7 separate regions of the Homo sapiens genome follow, and regions 1, 2, 3, 4, 5 and 6 are each linked to region 7. The links are contacts of gene promoters, found by promoter capture Hi-C in blood cells and fetal thymus (Javierre and others, 2016). All regions are on one chromosome and are shown on one strand. The core of a region is centred on a gene start or on the middle of the fragment in contact, and the rest is flanking DNA. Distances in the headings are between cores, read along the strand shown.

Evidence for each region. Contacts are between HindIII fragments. The CHiCAGO score rates a contact against its expected background, and 5 or more counts as called.
Region 1: a contact is called between a fragment that was not itself captured here and the fragment with the promoter of EPB41L4A-AS1 in region 7, in 1 of 17 cell types (fetal thymus). The highest score is 6.2, in fetal thymus.
Region 2: a fragment that was not itself captured here is called in contact with the fragment with the promoter of EPB41L4A-AS1 in region 7 in 1 of 17 cell types (fetal thymus); the score reaches 5.2 in fetal thymus.
Region 3: a contact is called between a fragment that was not itself captured here and the fragment with the promoter of EPB41L4A-AS1 in region 7, in 6 of 17 cell types (M1 macrophages, erythroblasts, M0 macrophages and 3 more). The highest score is 8.1, in M1 macrophages.
Region 4: a contact is called between a fragment that was not itself captured here and the fragment with the promoter of EPB41L4A-AS1 in region 7, in 16 of 17 cell types (megakaryocytes, total B cells, fetal thymus and 13 more). The highest score is 12.8, in megakaryocytes.
Region 5: a contact is called between a fragment that was not itself captured here and the fragment with the promoter of EPB41L4A-AS1 in region 7, in 2 of 17 cell types (M0 macrophages and erythroblasts). The highest score is 5.7, in M0 macrophages.
Region 6: a contact is called between the fragment with the promoter of DCP2 here and the fragment with the promoter of EPB41L4A-AS1 in region 7, in 7 of 17 cell types (naive B cells, activated CD4 T cells, naive CD8 T cells and 4 more). The highest score is 8.2, in naive B cells.

What each region holds. Positions count from the first base shown.
Region 1 is chr5:111,218,125-111,221,906 of GRCh38, forward strand. No RefSeq gene overlaps it. Among named protein-coding and RNA genes, the nearest start is that of CAMK4, 4.4 kb to the right of the region's middle. The HindIII fragment of the contact is 2,949 bases long and covers 743-3,691 here.
Region 2 is chr5:111,242,976-111,246,622 of GRCh38, forward strand. The region is part of intron 1 of CAMK4 (calcium/calmodulin dependent protein kinase IV); the gene reads left to right. Among named protein-coding and RNA genes, the nearest start is that of CAMK4, 20 kb to the left of the region's middle. The HindIII fragment of the contact is 195 bases long and covers 2,148-2,342 here.
Region 3 is chr5:111,491,418-111,494,818 of GRCh38, forward strand. CAMK4 (calcium/calmodulin dependent protein kinase IV) reads left to right here. Exons shown (of 11, transcript NM_001744.6): 11 at 1-3,401. Among named protein-coding and RNA genes, the nearest start is that of STARD4-AS1, 19 kb to the right of the region's middle. The HindIII fragment of the contact is 1,149 bases long and covers 1,505-2,653 here.
Region 4 is chr5:111,533,574-111,537,160 of GRCh38, forward strand. The region is part of intron 1 of STARD4-AS1 (STARD4 antisense RNA 1); the gene reads left to right. It overlaps LOC124901042 (a long non-coding RNA gene), which reads left to right. Exons shown (of 2, transcript XR_007058899.1): 1 at 1-3,587. Among named protein-coding and RNA genes, the nearest start is that of STARD4, 23 kb to the left of the region's middle. The HindIII fragment of the contact is 7,282 bases long and covers 1-3,587 here.
Region 5 is chr5:111,471,540-111,474,926 of GRCh38, forward strand. CAMK4 (calcium/calmodulin dependent protein kinase IV) reads left to right here. Exons shown (of 11, transcript NM_001744.6): 8 at 1,772-1,847. Among named protein-coding and RNA genes, the nearest start is that of STARD4-AS1, 39 kb to the right of the region's middle. The HindIII fragment of the contact is 3,362 bases long and covers 1-3,330 here.
Region 6 is chr5:112,975,405-112,978,652 of GRCh38, forward strand. DCP2 (decapping mRNA 2) reads left to right here and starts at 1,394. Exons shown (of 11, transcript NM_152624.6): 1 at 1,394-1,582. The coding sequence starts at 1,530. RefSeq lists enhancers at 885-934, 965-1,044, 1,060-1,819, 1,355-1,404, 1,475-1,564 and 2 more. The HindIII fragment of the contact is 6,686 bases long and covers 1-3,248 here.
Region 7 is chr5:112,159,276-112,161,775 of GRCh38, forward strand. EPB41L4A-AS1 (EPB41L4A antisense RNA 1) reads left to right here and starts at 1,251. Exons shown (of 3, transcript NR_015370.2): 1 at 1,251-2,020; 2 at 2,428-2,500. SNORA13 (small nucleolar RNA, H/ACA box 13) reads left to right here and starts at 2,210; the gene lies at 2,210-2,342. It also overlaps a transcript of EPB41L4A not described here. RefSeq lists enhancers at 1,118-2,317, 1,136-1,345, 1,218-1,950, 1,726-1,825, 1,846-1,895 and 1 more. The HindIII fragment of the contact is 7,805 bases long and covers 1-2,500 here.

The DNA.
Region 1 (3,782 bases), core at 967-3,466, 940 kb before region 7:
CCCTTCAAGCATTTATCACTTCCTTGTTGTTAGAAACATTCCAATTCCACTCTTAGTTATATTGAAATATGTAATAAGTTACTGTTAACTATAGTTGCCCTATTATGCTACTGAACATTAGATCTTATTCCCTGTATCTAACTGTATTTTTGTGCTCATTAACTATCCCCTATTTATCCCCTCCTTGCTATTACCCTTCCCGTCCTCTGATAGCCATCATTCTACTCTCTATCTCTAAGAGTTCAATATTTTTCTTAGCTTCCACATATGAGTGAGAACATGCAATATTTGTCTTTCTGTGCCTGGCTTATTTCACTTAATGTCCTCCAGTTTCATCTGTGTTGTTGCAAATGACAAGATTTCATTCTTTTTATGGCTGAATAATATTTCCTTGTGTATACATACTACATTTTCTTTATCCATTCATCCACTGATGGATACTCAGGTTGATTCTTTATCATGGCTGCTATAAATATGAGAGTGCAGATGTATCTTTGATATACTGATTTCCTTTCTTTTGGATATATACTTAGCAGTGGGATTGTGGACCACATGTTAGTTCTATTTTTAATTTATTTATTGTTTTGAGGAACCTCCATTCTGTTCTTCACAGTGACTGTACTAATTTATATTCCCACCAACAGTGTACGAGGGTTCCCTTTTCTCCACATTCTCACCAACATTCATTATTGCCTGTCTTTCTGATAAAAGTCATTTATTAGAAAGATTGTATCTCATTAGAAGCTTTGGGTCACTGAGCCTGTTTAATGGTAGGTTTCACTCTAAGGTGATTTTCTGATAAAAGTCATTTATCAGAAAGACAGGGGTGAGATATTTCCTTGTTTTGATTTGCATTTCTTTGATGAATAGAAATTTCTTTATATAGTTGTTGGCTATTTGTATGTTTCTTTTGAGAAATGTCTGTTGAGATCTTTTGCCCATTTTTCAATCTGATTTTTTTTCCTGTAGAGTTGTTTGAGTTTCTTATATATTCTGGTTATTAAACCCTTGTCAGATGGATAGTTCGCAAATATTTTCTCCCATTCTGTGGGTTGTCTCTTCAGTTTTTTTGATTGTTTCCTTTGCTGTGTGCAGAAACTTTAGCTCGATGTGATTCAATTTGTCCATTTTGCTTTGGTTGCCTGTTCTTTTGAGACCTTACTCAAGAAATCTTTCCCAGACCTATGAAATGGAGTGTTTCCCCAATATTCTCTTCTAGTAGTTTCATAGTTTCAGGTATTAGATTGAAGTATTTAATCCACTTTGACTTGATTTTTGTATCGTGAGAGAGAGGGTCTAGATTCAGTCTTCTGCAAATGGACATCCAGTTTTCCAAGCACTATTTATTGAAGAGACTGTCCTTTCCCTAATGTATGTTCTGGGTGCCTTTCTCAAAAATGATTTGACTGTAAATGCATGAATTTATTTCTCGGTGCTTTCTTCTGTCCTACTGGCCTATATATTCGTTTTGATGCCAGTATCATGCTCTTTTGGTTACTTTACCTTTGTATTATAATTTGAAACCAGGTAATATGACACCTCCAGCTTCCCCCTGCCCTGGCCTCCCCTCAGGATTGCTTTGTCTATTTGGCTTCTTTTGTGGTTTTACATAAATTTTAGCATTATTTTTCCTATTTCTGTGAAGAATGTCATTGGCATTTTGATAGACATTGCATTGAATGTGTAGATTGCTTCGGGTGGTGTGGGCATTTTAAAAATATTGTTTCTTCCAATCCATAAACATAAAATATCTTTGCATTTTTTTGTGTCCTCTTCCATTTCTTTCATGAATGTTTTACGGTTTTCATTGTAGACATCTTTCACTTCTTTGGTTAAGTTTATCCGTAGATATTTTGTTTTATTTGTAGCTATTGTAAATGGGATTACTTTTTCATTTTCTATTTCAGAAATGCTACTGTTTTCATATGTTGATTTTGTATCCTGCAACTTTACTGGACTGATCAATTCTAATAGTTTTTTTTTTTTTTTTTTTTTTGGTGGAGTCTTTAGGCTTTTTTAAATATAAGATCACATCATCTGCAAGCAAGGACAATTTGACTTCTTCCTTTCTAATTTGGATGAAGGGGCCTAATAACTTTTTATAAAATTTTTTAACCAATGTTTTGTTCTCTGTTCTATGCCTCACCTTGAGAACTATCTGGTACTCTAACTTCTGAACATGTCTTGATTTTATAGTAGGGATTAGATTTCTTCTTATTGGCTTTTCCCATTGCAAATCTAGGTTTCTGATTTATTAACTCCTCTGTTACTGTTTGTTTACGTGTTCAAGATTCAGTTGACATCACTTCTCTCTTTCTTTTTGTGGGATGATAACCCTGTTCCTTTTCTGGTCATTTCAGTTGAGTTTTGATAAGAAGTAATGGTACATTTTGTATATTTAATTCCTGTTTCATCTATTTTAATATTTATTAATTTTTATCTATGTCTCAAATGAAAGTAAGCTGCATGGATTATACAAAATATCCTGTTTTTAAACTTCAATTAATAGCATTTTTACAAAAGTCAATTATGAAAAGCATAGATGTCAAATGACTAAAATTATGCTGAATATAAAATGAATTCTATAATCACCTCTGTACCATGAAATGGCTTTCTTGCACCATTGTTACCTAAAGTAGCAGGAGAAAAAAGGCTTACCATCTCCTTTAATGTAACATGCTTGCTTTGGGCTTATGTTGTAAAAGAATTGCTAAGAACAGACAAGCATTTACATGCAGTGCTGCTGCTGCTGGACTTGCCTCAAAGAAGTGAGAATAAAAATGGCCTAGCAACTATTTCATGCCCATTTGTCCACTGGTCAGTGCAAGCCAAGGGAAACTTACTGAGTCAAAGCTAGAATTTAGAGAGCTTTATTATCTTGCTTTGCTTGTGAACTTGATTTTTCAACACGATTAGTGAATCTATTCTCTGAAAAGTAACATCACGTGGGCATTTTCAGTCTTTCACCAAACAAGCTAGTATGTAAGTGAATTTGTATGAATTTGCATATACTTGTTATTTGTTAGAGCATTTGTACATTGAGTTTGTGCTCATCATTATAAAATTATCATGAGGAATAGTTTTTGTACAGTCATGTGTCACACAACATTTTGGTCAACAATGGGCTGCATGTGTAACGGTGGTCCCACAAGACTAATAGAGTTGAAAAATTTCTGTCACCTAGTGACATCATAGCCTAATCTTACAGTGTAATACATTACTCATGTGTTTATGGTGATGCCACTGTAAACAAACCTACTGTGCTGCCAGTCATATAAAAGTATAGTGTATACAATTATGTATAGTACATTATACTTTATAATGGTAATAAATGACTATGTTACTAGTTTATACTATGTTACCAGTAAATACTAGTATAGTATTTACTACACTATACATTTTATTGTTATTTTAGAGTTTTCTCCTCTAGCTATAAAAAAAGTTAACTGTAAAACAGCTTCAGGCAGGTCCTTCGGGAGGTATTCCAGAATAAGGCATTGTCATCATAGAAGATGACAGCTCCATGCATGTCATTGCCCCTAAAGCCCTTCCAGCTTTCAGTGGGACAAGATGTGGAGGCGGAAGACATGATATCGATGCCTGTCTCTGTGTAGGCCTAGGCTAGTGTGTGTGTATGTTTTAGTTTTTAACAAAGTTCAAAAAGTTAAAAAAGTTGTTTTAAAAAGAAGAAAGCTTATAGAATAAGGATACATAGAAAACATTTTTGTGCAGCTTTACAATATATTTTGTATAAAATACCTTGTATTTGTGTTTCAGCTAAG
Region 2 (3,647 bases), core at 995-3,494, 920 kb before region 7:
CACTGTGGCGAGGTCCTGTCTGCCTCTACACCTGGATTGGGAGCTCCTCTAAGACTTTTTAGTTCCCATGTACCTCCACAGTTCCGGGCAGATGTTTAAAACATTATTCAATGACTTGTAGTAAAGCACAGTAAGGCAGATTTCACTCAGGACCATTGAATAGGGACCACTGCAATGGGGTCCTGCAGTGGGGAAGAGAAAGATTGGGCTTAACTCCAAAGACAGCAAGGGCAAGTGGGATTTTATAGCCAAGGGGCAAGGACAGTGGATGGAAAATTACTAAGAGGAAACATCGGTGATATGGGGAACCTGTGGTTCTTCCTGAAGATAGCCAGGGTGATCAGGCATCACCTGGGGAAGAGTGAAGGATGAGGAACTTGATCAGACTCTGAGTGTAATCAGACATTGAGAGTAGTGGGTTATTGCCAGATTGACTTAGCAAGGTTCTTATGAAAACTGTATTGTACAAGGAAGCACACAGATGGGCGTAGCAGAAGGCTCAGGAGCCTGACTAAAGTTTTGTCAAGCAAAGAATCTTTGTCACACAGGGTAGACTAAAAAAATGTTTACTGCCTGCCAGTTATAGGTTCTATCATGACTGAGTTAACCTAACTGGAAATTTTACTAGCCCTATCATGGGAAAGGCTCCAATTTCCCTCTCTGCCAATATCTTCTTGTTTTTTGTCTGTTTGTTTTTGCACCTTCTGAAGCCTATTGAGAGGATGAGGAAGGATTCAGGCAAGTATCTCTGGGAGTCTCCTAGCCGGCGGTTCTTTCCTGTGTTTACAAAGGGGCACTGCTGGGGAATGTCAAGCCTCGTAATGTAAAAAATACTGAAGATATTGTGACTGTATCTTGTGCCTATAGCTGCACGAATGCAACATGCATTCATCTTCACCATTCTTAAGATTCTGACTTAGATTTTTTCAGGAACTTAGAGCTGGATAGAACTTTAAAATTCAACCAGTCCAGTGTTTTGTTTGTTTGTTTTTGTTTTTTTAATACAGATGAAGAAACCGGAGCACAGAGAAGTCACCTGTCTTTTCCAGCCCTTCAAAACTAGTTAGTAGTAGAAATGGAACCAGAACCTTGGTCTTCTGCACTTTTGTCTCTGACGTACTTCCTTTCTTCACAAGTGCCATTTACAGAAAGCTGGGCTTAAACCATTCCCAGCTATTCCTCCTACAGCTTTCCTGAATTATTTCAGAATACAAAATTCTGTATCTCCAAGAAACTATTACAGATTTAGATTTAAAAATATGCACTATTTTCTACCTTGTATGTTTTGCTTACTATTTTTTTTTGCAGAGGATATGTCTTAAAAATTGAAATGCATCAAAAATTATTAAACATTGCAGAATATTTTATACTTGTCTTCATTCCCATTTTGGAGAGTGTTCACCTTGTAAAAAATCTTTGTCCTCAAATGTATTGGAATCACAGTTAAGAATTCTAGCCTTGATGTTGGTTTGCATTGTCTTCTGGTCTATGAGTGATTTGGGGCTGAGATATTCTTTGTCATACCTCTTTGAAGATACTAGTTAAATATGCTAGTGTCCCACTCACTTTTAAAAGCTGACCTATATTAAAATATAACATAAAATAGTCTGGGCGCAGTGGCACACGCCTGTAATCTCAGCACTTTGGGAGGCTGAGGCAGGCGGATGTCGAGGTCAGGAGATCAAGACTATCTTGGCCAACATGGCGAAACCCCATCTCTATTAAAAATACAAAAATTAGCCGGGCATGGTGGTGCGTGCCTGTAGTCCCAGCTACTTGGGGGGCTGAGGCAAGAGAATTGCTTGAACCCGGGAAGTGGAGGCTGCAGTTAGCCGAGATCGCACCACTGCATTCCAGCCTGGGTGACAGAGCGAGATTCTGTCTCAAAAAATTAAAAATAAAATAAATAAATAAATAATATAACATAACATAAAATAAATCCTTTTTTGTTTCTAACTTTCTGACTCTTTCTAACTCCAGGAAAAGTGAACGTTTGAGCAGATGGATTGATGAATATATTGCTAGAATATTTAGCAGAAATGAATATGATGAATATATTGATGGATTGATGAATATATTACTAGAATATTTAGCAAAACTCACATGGAGGTAGTACTTTTATGGGGCTTGCACATGTTACAGGACTAAGCTTACTTTTTACTTTTTTACAGTTGGGGACATATTGATTCCATAAGTTATTTACAAGAGAAATATCTTTGATATTTATTCTTAATTTCAATTAATACTGCCAGCACCCAATTTGCATTAAATACATATTCTTCTCTTTTCTTCTTTACCCCAGTCAGTAATTTCACTGACTATGGTGATAGGCTGTCAAGTAAAGCTTTAAGTTTCTTTAACTGATAAGAAAAATTATTTTAATTTATTGTTGATAATAATAGCAGAAATTTTTATTATTGGTAAAAGGGAAAATTGCAAGTGTTGTCTTTTATTCACATGCCTATATCTAAGCTTGCACTGAAAAATGTGGATACTAATACATTTTCTGCCATATCTTTTCTTCCTTTCTTGGTCTACTTTCTCTGACATGAGTTACAACTACCATGTTCATATTTCTCTCAAACAGCTCTACTTTGACCCCTTCAATTTGGTTTTTTATTCTCATAATTCCATTAAATAGCAGCAAATGAGTTTCACTTGACTTCTCCAACTGATTCCCTGATCTAATATTTTAAACCTGTTAACTGTGTGTAAATTTGTTGATAATACAGATTGCCTTAACTTTTTGAAAGTGGTAAGATGACTGCTGTGTGTGCCATAAAATGCTGCGCATTCATGGACAAATTTTCTGATATAAACAAAACTTAACACAAAACTGTTGGGTGTGTACGTCATAATCATGTGAACAAACCTATCAGCCACAGGAGTAAATGGTTCTCACAAATGACTGCAGTTTGTATAACTTGTGTTCAGCCAAAGCATGTTTCTATTTTTATTCTTCTATAACCATTTATAGAAAGCATTGATGTTAACATTATTTTTCTGCCAGCCACCATATAGAGCAGGGATTTCTAACTTTAATCCATAGATCTTCCTGTGACTAGGTTTTGGGACTATATGAAGCTTCTGAAATTGAAAGCTATATTTTATGTGTGGACGTGTTTTTCTGAAGCAAGTCACCACAGCTTTCATCGAATTCTCGAGATGTTTAAGGAGCACTGATGTTTGAGGTTTGTTCACATAAATGTATTTGTACATATTCTCAGAATAGCTGGAAAGCACAAAGCTTGTGCTCACCTATTCATTTAACACACTTTTTCTTTCGCCACTGCCCTGCCCAGTCTGTCTACCCCCAAGAAGGGCTTTCTGTATTCTTATATTCCCAGTTTTTACTGCTTCTATGTTCCCTTTTATCAGTTAGGATGCTTTAATGTACAAATGTAATTTAATAAGTAAATACTGAAGCACCAAAAGAAACCTAGCTGAGATCATCTTAACCAATGGAATAGATTTATTGGCTCAAGTCACTAAAGTCCAGAACTTTTTCAGGTTTTACATGCAGTTCGACTTGGTACAGATTTATTTCTCTGCATTTATTTTAGCTTTGCTCTCCCAGGTGTGTTGGTTTTGTTTTCATACCAGCTTCCCTCATGGTAGCAAAATGCAGCATTTAAGTCCTCCTACTG
Region 3 (3,401 bases), core at 829-3,328, 670 kb before region 7:
TATATTCCAGTTTGTTTTTTTTTTTTTCTCCTTAGCTTAAGGTTCGTATTCCCATTTGCTTCTGAGAAAGTTAGGAAAATTTTGTTTTATGTTGCAGATGCTCTCACAACAATAATTGTGCTGGAGATAGATACAACTTAGTGAAATTTTCCTACAGAACTAAAAACGCAAAATTGCATCACTCCTGAAGAAAAGAAATTTAGAGTATGAATTGAGTTGGTTGAGAGTAGAATTAAAAAGATTTCTAGCACTTTGAGCATGTTTTAGAAATTTGATCCTTACATTTAAAATTATGTAAATGACATCTTTCACTGGCATTTGCTCACATTTAAGTCAATCTACAGCTGTTACTTACTAAGCTAAGAAATAAGAAGATCCCTATGGTTCTGAATCTCTCATAATATTCTGAAGTAATTTATATCAATTGAATTTTCATTAATCATTTTAGGAAATATTATGTTTTATTTTGTGGCATTATATGACAATGACTTTCTCAACAATAGCTCAGGGAATACGCAAACAGCCAGCTCTTTTATGTAAGAAAGCCATTTTCTAATCCCCACGCTTTCCTGAGTGTTACGTATTTTATTTCTTTGAAAAGAGAGGGCCTTGAGTAAATGCTTTCGTTTGCTTTCCTTACATATTTAGAAATCCAAGAAGGGCCCTTGTCTTAGTCTATTTCTGTCACAGAGAAATTGTTCATTCCAAAATATCCACCTTAAGGGAAGCTAGTGACCGAGATATGGAGAAAAACATAGGCATTCATGACCTTTGTGTTTCCGTTTGACTTTCAACATCTGTAACCAAAAGGTCACAAATGAAATATTTAGTAGAAAGTGCAATATCAATTTATTAGGAGTACCTAAAATTATAACTCTAAATAATATACAGCAATATTATTGCTCTATTATTACAGCAATCAATAATATAATATAGCCACTAGGATACACTCGCTGTAGAACTCAGAACAAAAGATATCAATCTTCTGCCAGTCCGCATCATTATGTGTAGCAGAGACTTTACTGGAATGAGTGAGGGGAAAGATAACAAAATGTAGATTAGGATTCCACATTCTCCCCTGCCCATCTTCTTGATTGCTCAGTTTGAAGACGATCATTGATGGACAAATACTTTAGAAATGAATGAAGTCAATAGCTAATGTTTCTCCCAGAAACTAAACAACATAGTTTAGGGGATATTAGGCCTACATTCTAATCACATTGTAAGGAAGTGATTTTCTAATTTTGAAGCTTCCCAGGAGCAGCCCCCTCCAGGAACAATTTTCCCTGTGAACTTTCACTGAGAAACTATTATATGCCATGGAGGAGTCAAAGATGAATTAAATCCAATGCTATCCTCCAGGAGTGAGCTTTGTAGTTGGAGAGAAAAGCCAACCTTATAGATACAACCTGTACATATATAACCTATGCTGCATTTAGGCAGATGATAAGCCCTAGGAATGGAAAGAGGGAAAAGCTCCCTTTTGCCAGGAATGATGAAGGAAAGCTTTATGGAAACACAGGCTGTATGTGAAAGATGGGTGAATCTTTGCAGGTAGGGAAGAAGTAGGGGGCATGTCTGGCTGAGAACCGGCCTGATCATAGAGTGGAAAAATGAAAGGCAGAGGTGAAGGAAGAATACTAAATGTGAAAGGCTGAAATACACAGGGAAGTGTTGCCAGTGTGCAACAGAATCTCATCTCGTGCAAAATTGAATTAGACTTCCTTACTCCTTCCTTACTCTGGGTAGGTCCATGTGCAGCCTTTCCTCAGAGCATCTAGCCTGACATACTTGGCTCATCTGCTGTGCTTCTAAGCCAAATAAAAATCATCAAACACATCGAAGATATTTTTGGGAGTCACCAGGTTAAAGCAAAGCCTCAGTCACTGAAAGCAAAAACTGAATTGGCCAGGTCTCCACTGACAAAACAGAGTAAATGATAGTATGACAGATAATTTCAAGTTTTCCAAGACTCCAATTTCTGAAAAATGTCTCATGACTCCAAAAAATCACGTACTTCCTAAAATGTTGCCAGTGGAGGACCGAATCAAGGTTATTGCTGACCTCATTTTTTCAACCTTTTCAGTTATTTGACCTGAATAGGCAATCCCCCAGGATTTCTGATTGAATTCTACCTGAAAGTTTAGATTTTAAAAGACAACCTGTAGGAAGCTAAGTCTCAGGCAACAAAATTTAAAACCATCAGAACTTGTTTCTCCAAACATCAACCTGCTCCTGTCAAGTCCTTTTTCATCTCTCCCTTTTGTCCCTTTACATACTGTTTTGTAAGTTCCTTTTGATATCATTTATTGCAGGCAGTATTTTTACATCCATCTTCAAGAAACTTGGGAGACATTTAGACATTTAGTATGTGTACTTTTAGTTGTCTTGCCTCTTTATTTCAGATAATGCCTGTGATTAGTGAATGGCGGCATTATTCCTGAAGACAAATGAAGGAAGATAGGGAGCAAGATTGACTGTCATTTGAATGATGGAAGAGAAGTAGAATTACTGTGAGGTTACAAAAATCGTAAGTTAGCAGACATTGAGAAAGGAAAACTTCCTACTTGGGCTTTTCAGGCTTATGTGACATTATCTGGATGTGTTTTCTAGTCTTTCCTAAAGGAGAAATTTTTATTCCTGGGTTGCTGAAAGCTTTCTGGACTAAAAGGATATAAGCAGCTCAATAGCAGCATAGAGGATTAGATTAATGGAACAGCACTGCATACAGGAAAGCTACATCTCCAATAGTTTAGGCTGCAAGTCAGTAGCCAAACACAAGAGCATGTAAGATTTGGAGGACAAAGTATAAATATTTTAAGTTTACACAACCAAGATTATAGGCTACCTTCCCAACTTCTAATTTGAAGAGCACTGAAAATGGAGCTGTGAACACTTCATTTTTAAAACCTGACAATATGGTGCTATTGACTACTTAATACAAAGATATATTACAATATTTTTAGGTAAATGTATTAAGTCTGGCCTGGGCATAAATGTACATACAGAAAATGTTTGTAGAGAATTCATCAAAATCATGCCCATTTGCTGTTGTAGAGCTACAGTATTCTTCAATGGTGGTGACTGACCAGTGAGTTTCTACTTCTTACAGATGGGACACAACAGTCATGGGCTGTCTCAGCTGCCCAAAGCCTGAGGCAGACCACATGAGAGCTGTGGCTTCTTCTTGGATTCAGGTTGGATAACCCAATTCAGTAATTAAATATGTAAATTTTGGGGGGGGTTGGGGGGTGTTTTCTAGGAACTTGAAGAGTACGTGACATTATAAAAAATGGGTGTTGGAAGACTAATTGTAGAAATTTGACCTGAGGGCCAATGTTACTTGGTGTAAGTTCACTCAGACAGACATGTCAGAACATGCCCAAAGAAGCCTATATCTT
Region 4 (3,587 bases), core at 599-3,098, 630 kb before region 7:
AGATTATCCAATAAATACCAATTCTTTTCGCAAAGGAGCTTGCAATGAATTGAGAAAGAGACATAAATAAATGATGTCAGTGCAGTGTGGTGAATGCTATGATAGAGAAAGGCAAAAAGAAAACTGGCAAGAGATCTAGCTTTTGTAGAACACAAACTGTCAGACTGCACCAAGTACTCACCCACTTTGTTTCTCTTCACAACAGTCCTGTGAAGTGGCTACCATTATCACATTTTACAGGTAAAAAATCTGAAACCTCAAATGATCATGCAAGTTGCCCATGGATACTCAGGGTATAGTTTAGAGAGGTCAAGCACTAAACAAATAAGGAGTTATGGGTTCTTAGCCAGGCATGGTGGCACATGCCTGAGGTGGGAGGATCTTTTGAGCACAGGACCTGGAAGCTACAGGGAGCTATGATCGTGCCACTGTACTCTAACCTGGGTGACAGAGCAAGATCTTGTCTCAGGAAAAAAGTTATGGATTCTAATCCATCTAATCCAGACTGTATAATTGACAAACTTCGTGCATTTAGGTTTTTTCCTACAGTTCTGTGGGCCTAATTTCCCTCTATAGAATGGCAGAGCTATACTACTACAAGACGCCTTAGGATTTTTTTCTTCAAGAAGATGGGAAGGAGTGAGTGGACATTGAAGAGTTCTCATCACAGATCTAAAGAAGAAACAAACTGAAGAAAATTCTGCACCTTTAGACTCAGTGTCAGGAGTACCCCAGAACAGAGATCCCATTATGCTGAGTGGAGTGGGGCTTTGGGATCACAGATATGAGACCTCTAAATAAATCTCAGGCATTAAGAACTGCTTTGGAGACAGGCTGGACTTGGTCTGATAAGTTAATATCTTCCACAAAATTTATGTTTTCTGCCTAAATTTTTCGTTATTCTTATTCCCTATTAAGACAGTTAACCAGCTCTACTTTCTAACCCCAGGGAAGGACTGTAGCAGGGTGATTTGTACTCAGAGCTACTTGCCTCACAGACTGTATGCAGGGAACAGAGGGAAATGCAGTACAACAAGAGTGAGAATGTAGATCTTAAATAAGAGTCTTCCAGACTGGGAGGGAGAGAGTAGAAGGCAATGGATGGGATTCTCAGAAGCAGGATCTGAATCCTGGTACTGCCAATGAAGTAGAGGTGAAAAATCTTCAGATACAAATGCACACAAGGCTGCTGTAGGCAGGCAGGATGGTAGCCTCACAGATGTAGCAAATATGTCTAGATCTAGATCTCCACAAATACATAGTAAAATATGATGTTTCCAGGTCTTCACCAATGCTGTGCTTTCTGCTTGGAAAGGTCCCCTCTGTTTGTCTATTTGTTGACTCTCTATTGTCAAAGCAAAATTGTACCACACAAAGTGAAACAGGCAAGGAAGACTTTCTTCAAGGCTACTGCAATAGGGAGTGAGACCAGAACGAAGTCTGAACTCAGGAGGTATTTTAAGAGCTGAGGTGAGCTAGTAGAAAAATACTGGAGGATGTTTGAAGGAGATTTATCAATGGGATATGTCTAGCAAATTGAGTTATTTAAGTTTGCAAATGGTTTTCTTGGTGATTAGTTCACCCGAGCTTACTAATTGTCTCCATGGAAGTTAGGCTCTTATTCTCCCACAGAGACTGGAAGATAGGGCACAGTTTCCTTGATGATTACATTTCAGTGGAATGGCTCCAAGGTCCTTGAGAAGGACAGTTCTGAGTTGTACAATTGGCAAGGGGCTTTTTAAAAGATTTATATCTCAAAGGGGGCAGATAAATAACTTACAAATATTCTAAAGTCAATGTTCTAAGAAGGAGAGGTCAAGGGCCTAGAATCAGAAAGAAACATGTCTAAAGTTTAGTCAAGCTGAAGGGAATATTAAAGCCATCTTGTAAATTCCATCTTTAGTCATAGAAAATGTGGCCCACTTTCTGATTCTCTTTCCTTCTCCTATACCCAATATTGTATTCCAACATCTACAGAAACTCTGATTCTTGTTCATACATTCAACTCCAATGTATGGAACTAAACTGCAAGTATCAATTTATATATTTAAGACATTTAAGGAAGAGACAATGTCTTTTTTCATCACTTAGTTCAATGATGATTGCATGGTTGAAAATGCAGAATAAATATTTGTTAAAATAAACTAAATCTTAGTAACTTATACAGGCTATTTTGACTACTCTCACTATTCGACCTTTCCGTGAAACTGGCCAATTTTATCACTTTTCCCCCATCCATCTATCACATATAACTTGTTTTCCTGTTTGTTTGCTTTGTTTTGTTAATTTGAATAGTTTACAAACGTCCTTAATTTAAGTGACCAGAATTCTAATGTTATGTACTACTACTTAGTTTAAGCTCAGTTCAAAGACTGGGTGATTTTTGGCCAAATTCTCACCATTGTGACAGTAAGTTTTCTACTTTCTCTTTTAGTAACACCCATGGATGGTAAGAACAAAGAAGAACCTTCATGAGTGCTTTGATGGTAGCTCCTGGAAAAGTAGTTTGAGTAATAAAGTAGCTCCCAATTGCTCATCAGCTGAAAAACCAACTGCCCTTTATATAGTTCTACCATTATTTCTATACAGGCAGAGCCTTTGTTTTCACATGGTGAAGGAAAACCTTGAAGACATGGTTTGCATTGATTTCAAATTCCTCTTAAAATGACTCTAACAGGAGGAAATATTCTTTTGGTCTGAGTTATTCTGAATTGTATCTGTTTTGATTACATCTACCAGACAATTTTAGTTAGCTCTTAGCAGTAATCTTATTTAGCCATCCAGATGGCTGAAAATACCATGCCAACATCCTTTTCCTATTGTATTGTTGACTAGACACAGCCTATTACCTTGAATTTCAGTTGGCTCACAAGCACACCCAAAACATGGAGTATAGTGTAGTTGATATTTTATATCTGCCAAGTGCTTTATTCTATTCCTGAGATTAATTTTAGCAATTGTGGACCGACAGTTATCCTTGTTGGTCACTAGACTAGTGTTTTGTACACAGCACCAATGGTTTATTATATGAATCTCTTCACATAAAAGAGTTAATATGTGTCTTCAAACTCTTATTGGCCAATTCTCAGAAAGTCAGTTATGTCCAGACCACCAGATGACAAGAAAATAGCATCATATACATGTCTAATGATAAAGTGCATTTAAATTCATTTTGTTCTTGCTAGAACATAAGAACAATTTCTAAGTACAAAGAGGGTAGGTTTTTCAAGATAAAACATTTTTCTTATGACCCACTGTTTTGCAAATACCTCTCCCCCAAGTCCCTTTATTTTTTCATTGCCTTGTTTTTCTCAATTACAGAGTATTTTTAATATGGTTATCTGATTTATTCACATGGGGATTGATATGTCTGCTAGGTTGAAAATAAGTTGTATGATAAAAATACATAAGATGGACTCTCAAGGGAAGAATATATAAGACGTTTCTTTAGCACTTTTAAGTCTGAGTCTGTGATTGGAGTCTTGTTTGTGAGAGGTTTGTTATTTATATTAGTTTTTAAAATGTTTCCTCCTAAATATCTTCTGTATAAGAAAAAGAAATAAGAGTACACATTTAGATGCTTTAAA
Region 5 (3,387 bases), core at 400-2,899, 690 kb before region 7:
TTCAATTTTAGCAGAATTCATGTTTCTCAGATAGAGGCTCTTTTCAAACTGAAGTCTTAGCCTTTTTAGTGTCTCAGACTAGATCCTGTTTGGACATGTTATGACAAGTTAGTACAAGTTTATTTTGGTACAAAAAATTGTGAAATTCATGCATAATTTTTTATAATATGCATTTACCATGACCTTTTGAAGACTCCTCATATTTTATGTAACCCAGCTTCTACAGGGAAATTGGAACATGATGAGAGTTAAGGGATAGTTAGGGAAGAGGTCAGTGGAATGCCCACAGTATTCCTTCCTGTATGGTAAATCCACAGTCCCATGAGGATAGCCTCCCTCCAGAGCTCACTTATTTATTTATTTATTTATTTATTTTTTGAGACAGAGTCTTGTTCTGTTGCCCAGGTTGGAGTGCAGCGGCGCCATCTCTGCAACCTCCACCTCCTGGGTTCAAGCTATTCTCCTGCCTCAGCCTCCCGAGTAGCTGGGATTACAGGCACCTACCACCATGCCTGGCTAATTTTTTTGTATTTTTAGTAGAGACAGGGTTTCACCATGTTGGCCAGGCTGGACTCAAACTCCTGACCTCAGGTGATCCACCTGCCTCGATCTCCCAAAGTGCTAGGATTACAGGTGTGAGCCACTGTGCCCAGCCCCAGAGCTCATCTTGATAGGCAACACTGAATGTGACATTTCCAGCCAGCATGGACAGAGAATCCTGTTTACTTGCATTCCAACCCCTATCCCAGAGAATGGTATGGTGTCCTCATCCCCAAGGCCTTCCTCAAGCAGCCATCAGCATTAATCAAGAAGCTCCTTCTTCAAGTACGCTGCTGGCACCTGCCGCACTTGTGTTCAAAATCAAGAAAGGCCACTCTGGACAATAGGCCTGAGCTCTATTTCTCCATAGATGGTGGGGCTCTTACTTTCCCTTTTCTTCTGTTGTTAATTAGGCAAACAAATAACACCCTTAGTACTCAGGGAAAGTGCCTGGATCCAGTTAATTACCCATTTTCACAAATCTAAGGTAATAAAAATATAAAAGATACTGCTATTCTCCACACCAGGGCTATTTTATGGCTGAGAAAGCCTTCCTTTTTCACAACAGCGGGCAGAACTAATACAAGCTGCTTCACTGTGCACAGATAAGTTCCCCTTTCTCAGTTCATGACCTCAAGCTGATTGGGATCAGCTGCTCTCTGGAGACCTACATGCATCTCTCAATGCCAGGACATGTGCCAGGACACCTCCTAGCTCCTGCTGCAACCGTCTAGACTAGATACTTGTCAACCCTCCTCACCACCTACACTGGTTCCCACCCTGCACACTGTCAGACCCACACACTCGCTGACACACCCTGCTCCCAGCAGGTCTAGATCTCAAGGCAGCATGCTTGTGACTTTTTTCTCCCTTGTTATGCTTAACTTTCATTTCTTTGTTTTCTATGTACAAAACTCCCTTTGAAGTATTGCGTCTTTTGTAGCATACATACAGCTCTATCTACTTGATTTGAGCAGTATCATGATATTCTGACATAGAATATTAAAGTTAATAGTGTTATTTTATGCATCCCAAAACAGATAGACTATAATCTCTCCTACTAAAATAGACATAAGTATTTATAGCTTCATACTGTGGTTTGGGGAGAGAAGATTGGTTATAAAACTGTTCAGAAATTGTTTTGATGAATTTATTTCTTTCCCATTGCTTGATATTAAAATATAAATATTGACTAAGCTCTAATTTAACACAATTTTCACTTTTTCTGCAGCACCTGAAATTCTTAGAGGTTGTGCCTATGGACCTGAGGTGGACATGTGGTCTGTAGGAATAATCACCTACATCTTGTAAGTGAAGAAAAGCAATATTTATGTAAACTATTTACCTTGCTGTGACATTTTCTAGATACCTCTAATGCTCATAAAAACCATAAAGATTACTTTTTGCCTTTTTGTGATTTTCTGTTACATACTAAATGCAGTTAGTGATAGAATTTCCTGAAAATGAACATTGCTTTTTATTTTGGAATTTTCTTGAGACCGGAATTCTTGTCCAGGGCTTTCCTATGTCTATATCCACTATGTAATATACAGCAGATTTAGGGAACAGTTTATTACTTGACACTAGTAAAGAATATGAGCCCAAGACCAGCTGTGTAAACTTGCTCTTGTTTTACTTATTTGCATCTTATATGAAATTATTAGATTTAGTCCTTTTAAATGGGCAAATGACTATTTAATTTCTTAAGCAATTCCAAACTGGTATATTTCTTATCAGGAATATTTTAAATGCATTTTTAGCTATCAATTTTGTTTCTTATTTCTGTTAGGTTTTCAAGGGTCTTAAATTTAACACCCTACACAAATTTCTTGGGAAAAAAAATGAGTGAAATATTTTAATCCCTGGTATCCCCACATCCATTCCTGAGCTCCTGTCTAATAAGAAATAAGGAGTTTCATGAAATTTGCCAAAGACATGGTGGAACTGCAGGTGGTGATGAAAAAAATCAACCAAATAGAAGAGCGTCTGAGATGGAAGAATACTGTAGAACAACTAGAAAATAAGATATCGATGCTTTCAAGAGTTTAGTTCAAAACAAGGAGACTTAGTTGCCATTTAGAGAGTACTACAAAGTTAGTTGTTGGAATGCATAATATTCCAATTTAGAGAAATTTTGAAGGGTTTGAAAGTAGGTATACTAGTCTACCTGGGCTTACATAACAAAATATATAGACTGGGTGGCTTAAATAACAGAAAGTTATTTTCTCACAGTTTTCGGGGGCTGGAAGTCCAAGACCAGAGTGTCAGCACAGTCAGCTTCTGCTGAGGGCCCTCTCTTGGCTTGCAGATGGCCGCCCTCTCACGGTGTCCTCACATGATGGGGAGAAGGAGAAAGCAAGCTCTGTGTACTCTTTTCTTATGAGGGGACTAATCCCATGAGGAAGACCCCACTCTCATGACCTCATCTAAACCTGATTGCCTCCCAAGGGCTCCATCTCCAAATACTATCTCATTGGGAGCTGGGGCATCAACATATGGATTTTGGGGTTGGAGGGGGGAATACAATTCAGTCCGTAGCAGAATGCTTTTAATTAAAGTTGTTTTTAACTTAATAGTGATCTTAAAAAATTCAATATCCAGGTGATATGGACTAGGAATGGGCTAACTGTGGTAGGGCCCACAAGCACGTTAGCAAACTCTAATTTACCTGATATACAATGGTTGATCGCCAAGACAGAAAGGTTTAACAAGCAACTGATAAAATAGCCATCCACTAATATGTAATACAAAAAGATATTTTGTGTGCTCAATTCCTTGTGTCTTTAGAAAAGCTTGAGAGGGGCCGGGCACAGTGGCTCACACCTGTAATCCCAGCACTTCGGGAGG
Region 6 (3,248 bases), core at 144-2,643, 820 kb after region 7:
CTTAAGTGTGAGTGAATAGTCAAGGACTACAGAGGCTTCTAATAGGATAGATGAGATCAAGATAATAGCAAAAAGCAGCTGAGAGGAATAAGACTACTCAGGGAGAAGAAAACGTCAAAATCTATTATTAATATCCTCAGAAGGATAAAATAAAATATACAAAGCAAGAATGTGACACCACAAGAAAGGGGCATTTGAAGAACAAAACAGAACTCTAAATAAGTAAAAACTCTGTAGTTGTCAGGAAGATAAATTTGAGGAATTCTCCAAGAAAGAGGGGAAAAAAAAGATGGAAAACGGGAGCAAAATAGATGGTGACGGGCCTCTTATGCCAAAGGAACTTGGGCTTGATCATACAGCAGAAACTGAAAAGATAACTTGTTCCTATCTGAGTAAAACAAAACAAAATGTAGGCAGTTGCACAGGCCAAGAATGGAGGCAGAGTCAGTGGTTAGGCAGCTCTCACTGTAGTATGGAGAAATGATGCAAAACTGAAGTACACAGTGGCATGTGACAAATTTAGACAAAAGATGGGAGATTAAATGGTAGAACAGACTAAACTTGTGACGGAGCAGGTGTGTGTGGGCCTGTGGGTCTGATGTAAGAGGAAAAAGAACAGATGGATCTAGTTTCTCCAAAGATCCCAAATGGATTGGTCTCCATTAAGCAAGACGAGGAATGAATAAGGACGAGCAGGTGGGGATTGCTTTGTGCAGAGGGTGGAATACAGATCAGAGTTCAGCTTAAATCAGTATTTTCTAAGATTTTGCTAGGTGCCAGATACTGAGATAAAGTCCTTGTCTTCATGTTTGGAACCAGGTGCCTAAGGAAGCACAGAGGAGAGCCACCTCCAAAATGGATACCCTCTCCAAGGGTTTGTAGTGAAAGAGGCACAGCTCTTGGCCTGGAGTTGGTGGGGGCTGCGATAAGTGCAAGATACTTGGTGACAGGAATCGCGAGCATACTCTTGTGTTGTACGGATTCTCAGGGTCGGCCCTGCAGAGGAAAGAGCTCAGTCACCGCGAGGTCCTGCACAACATGCCAAAGTCCCGGATATGTGTCCGGGGTCTACACCTAAGCCCCGACCCCTCTGAACTTCCCAGAAGCGCGCAGGAGGCATGGTGCGCATGCGTGTAGCCACCTCAAAGGCGGCGGGAAGTTGGTTTTCTGAGTAGCAACTGAGCAGCTTGAAGACGGATTGGAAGTAGCAGACCAATAAACAAACGTCTCATTGGCTTAGAGTGCTTAGAGTCCCAATTCTTCAGCTTCCCATTGGGCCTTTCAAGCGAGCAGGGGCGTGACTCCGGGGGCTCCGCCCCGAGCCTTGGCCCAGTCTTGGGGTCCAAGGCTGAGGGAGCGGGACGGAAGTGAGCGGGTCCCGCCCCTTCCCCTTCTCGTCTCCGTTGGAGTCGTCTCTGCCGCGGCTTCCTCGGCTGCCAGCTCTCCGGCGAGCCGGAGTCCTAGTGCCGTACCGTCAGTCCCCGGCCGCGCGGAGCCGGGATGCACTGTTCCTGCTGTGGGTCCTCATCATGGAGACCAAACGGGTGGAGATTCCCGGCAGCGTCCTGGACGATCTCTGCAGGTACCGCGCTACCCGACCCCCTTTCGCCCCCGTCGGGTTTTCTCAGTTTCGCGGACCCCCAGAGGCCTCTGGGTCTTCTTCCCCGCCCACGTCCATGTCCTCGCTTTCCGCTCCCGCCGCTGCTCGCTTTCCATCGTCGACCCTGCTCTCCGACGACACCGCCCCTCTTTCCGCCGCAGCCTCCCTGTTTCTCAAGGCCCTCCGTCCTTCCCCGCAGAACACCCGGAATTTCCTCATTTTTTAAGTTACTCAACTATTTTGCTTTCCCGCAGGCGTAGCCGCTTCGCCGGAGCCTGGGTCTTAGCGTTTTGCCGCCGCCGCCGCCTCCCTCTCCCATTGTTTTTTCTGCCTCTGTGACTTTTCCACGCCGTGCACCCCCTCCTCCCTGTGTCTCATTCCCCGATTCTGAAGGAAGACCCCCAGGGTAGTAATTTAAGGCTTAGGATCCCAGGTACGCGGACCTGCGCAAGGAGCAAATTTTCGGACTTATTCTGACGCCTGCGTGTTATTTGTCCGTGGCGTTCTCTGTAAATTCCTGTAAGGAATTACTTTTTTTTTCTCATCCCTGGACTTGTCTTTGGGGGAGAGAGGGAAAAAGTGTAGCGCTGCTTTTCTTTTTATCCTTAATAATCCTATTTTAAAGGAAATTCTCAACCGCGGGGTTTTAACTCAGGGTGTATACTTCAGATGAGAAATTTTCTGCATTCTTCCCCCTTGTCAACTCTGATTTCAGATAGCCAAACACGTGTAGGATACTTAAAAATGCTTATTTTCCGAAGGTAAAATTTGGAGTGCAGTGATACCCGGAGTTGTCGCCAAGTGTGTGTGGATTGTGATTACAAGTGATAACACCTTTTCGTTCACAGTTACTGTGTTTATGTTTTAAAAGGCAGGCTTTTAGTAGTTGTATCTCCTTCATGCAGTTTTTTTTAATGGAAAGTAAAGAACTGGTGTTTGTGGAGTTTTTTGGGGTTTTTTTTGTTTGTTTGTTTTTTTGTTTTTATTTTTTGAGACGGAGCCTCTTTCTTTTGCCCAGGCTGGTGTGCAGTGGTGCGGTCTTGGCTCACTGCAACCTCTGCCTTCCGGATTCAAACGAGTCTCTGCCTCAGCCTCCCTAGCAGCTGGGATTACAGGCACCCGCCACCACACCCGGCTAATTTTTGTATTTTTAGTAGAGACGGGATTTCACCATCTTGGCCGTGCTGGTCTCGAACTTCTGACCTCGTGATCCACCCGCCTCGGCCTCCCAAAGTGCTGGGATTACAGGCGTGAGCCATCGCGCCCGGCCTGGAGTTTCTACTGTGCACCAGGCACTACCTTTACATGTATTGTTTTATTTAATCCTCAGTCAGCCGTGTTTGGTAGGTGCAGTTAGTATATTTCCATTTTCATCTGCGCAAACAGATTCAGGAACTTTGTAATTTACATAAGGTCACATTCATCCTAATTCACAAAATCAAGATTTCACACCTATTCCTTTTTCTTTCCAGTGCCTGTGCTTTTTCTCTCATACCAAGGAGAAGTAATAAGCCTAACGTTTTAAACCTCACAAAAGTACATACAGAAAAGTAAATAGCCTAATTTTGCAACTAATACAAATGGCGCTGTACTTCTTTGGTGATGGTAGATTTATAATTTTTGAAGTATGGTAGATTCAAATGAACCA
Region 7 (2,500 bases), core at 1-2,500:
TTCTTTCTTTTATAGAAGTAGGCTTCAAAGAAACAACGAAAGGTGCTAAAACTGGTCTCTGGATGAATCTCTGCTAGGACTTAGAGAAACATGGAGACCTAGTTGTTATCATACAACTTGTCTTGCTGCCACTTGTCCTGTCCCTTCAAGGAGTTATGGTTATCAGGAAAAAAGCCAATTAACAAACTCTGCTTAATTTTTGTGGTGATAATTAATCAACTCTAAGATTTCAGCATAAAATCCCAACACCTTGCCCTGTGTGACAAGACCCTAAGTGCCTTGCTCCTGCCTGGCTCTCCAGCTGCATCTTGTCACTCTACACTCCTTACTCGACTCCAGCCACACTGGCCAAGGCCTGCTGTCTCCAGATCTTGCATAACCGCCTTCACACATCTGCTCGGAGTTCACTTCCAGTCTTCCTATTCCTAGCCCCATGAGCTACTGAACACTTGAAATGTGTCTAGTCTGAACGGAAATGTGCTGGAAGTATAAAATATACACCGGATTTTTATGACTTAGTAGATATAAAAGAAATATCTTATTAATAATCTCATATTGATTGCCTGTTGAAATATTTAAAATATGTTGGGTTATTATTAAAATTAATTTGATCTGTTTCTTTTTACTTTTTTTTTTTTTTTTTTGAGACGGAGTTTCGCCCTTTTGTCCAGGCTGGAGTCAAGTGGCATGATCTCGGCTCACCGCAACCTCCACCCCCACCCCGCCCGGGTTCAAGCCATTTCTCCTGCCTCAGCCTCCCAAGTAGCTGGGATTATAGACGCCCGCCACCAAGCCCAAGTAATTTTTGTATTTTTAGTAGAGACGGGGTTTTGCCATGTTGGCCAGGCTGGTCTTGAACTCCTGACTTCAGGTGATCACCTGCCTCAGCCTGCCAAAGTGCTGGGATTACAGGCATGAGCCACCGCGCCCGGCGTTCTTTTCACATTTTATGTGGCAATTGGAAAATTTAAAATTACACTCATGGCTCACACTGTTTCCATCGGACAGCGCTACCCTATGGCATGACCCTCTTTTGCTGCCCTCCTGGCACTTACATTGTAGAATTTCAGCATCCGGGCTCACTTGGTCAGTGGCCTACTCACCCAAGCAGAATGTACCACAGAAACCTTGCCTGGCTCACCCACACCTGATTCCCAGGCACTCAGGCCAGGGCCTGGAGCATAGTAAGTGCTGACTAAATATCTTTCGAATGAATGACTCTACTCTTCCTCAGCTGGACTCATGAATTCTGTCGGGTCCCAAAATACGTGGTCTAAAGTCCTTTGGGCTCCTGCCGCTGCCAGCACTGATCATATGCTCTTGACCCTGGTCGGGTGGGGGGATGTCTGGATACCTCCTCTGTGGAAAGAACTGGCCACACATCCGCAGAGGTGACTCGGGCTGAGAACCCAGGCTCCTCCTCCCTTTGGTGACACGCCCCTCGGTCCCTCACTGGCACTTCTCCCTCCGGCCACACGGCGGCGTCTCGCCATAGCGCAGCGGCCGATGGTACAGCCCGCTCCCCCCTCGCGCTCTCGGACAGTGGGTCCTTCCACTTGTAGAAAAGCATTGTGGGACGGAAGCCTGTCCTTTCTTCCTTTTGGTGCGAGCTTGCTGTGGTTTTTGCTCTGGGTCCTCTGGGATGGCGCCTGGCTGTGGCCGCGTGGTCTCTCACGCAGGGGCGCCGGGCGGGGGAACGCGGCCACCCTGAGTCTGGTGAGTCGACTGCGGCGGCCTGTGTCCGAAGTGTCCGGGGCCGTGAACAAGGGCAGCGGCCTGGCCTCAGGCCTGCGTTCCCACGTTTGGAAACGGGGAGCTTCGTCGATTTGTGTTTACATCATCGACTATGCCAGGGAGTTCTCCAGATAAGCCTGGTTTTATTTTCGTCAGTGAAAAGGCCTTACCGTATAACTGACTTTATGCTTGCCCTGCCCCCGTATAAAATAACTTAAAAGCAGCGTGCCTGGTTACAGCTGTTTCCACGTGCGGTGCTCGTCGGGAGTGATCACCTACCCTACAGGTGAGTTTTCACGTTCGTGCAAGACCAGTCGCCATTTAAAACGCATCGCATTTCACTTTTCATTATTAAGTCGGATTTTAAATCGTGAGAAAATTTCTCTGAAATGTATTGTCCGTTTTTAGGCTGTAATCGGCATTACTGTCAGCCAGTCAGCAACCTTATGCCATAAAGCCTACCTCACGCAGTGTCAGCCTTTGTGTTGCCCATTCACTTTGGAAACTAGTGAATGTGGTGTCAAAAAAGGCGTAAATTAAACGCTTTGCAGCCTTTTCCTGCCCTTAAATTTGATACCTTTGGTGTAGGAGCTGCATAAGTAACAGTTGCTGCTTTTACGTTTCCACGCGTGATCTTGACCCTGCTAGCCTTAAGTGTATGGTTTCTCTTAGCCAGTTCTAATTTTTGTTCAGGTGGAAGATGGATGCCTGAAGTGTAGACTGCTGCTAGCTGAATACCATCTGGGAGCATAAAGGTGACCTGAAG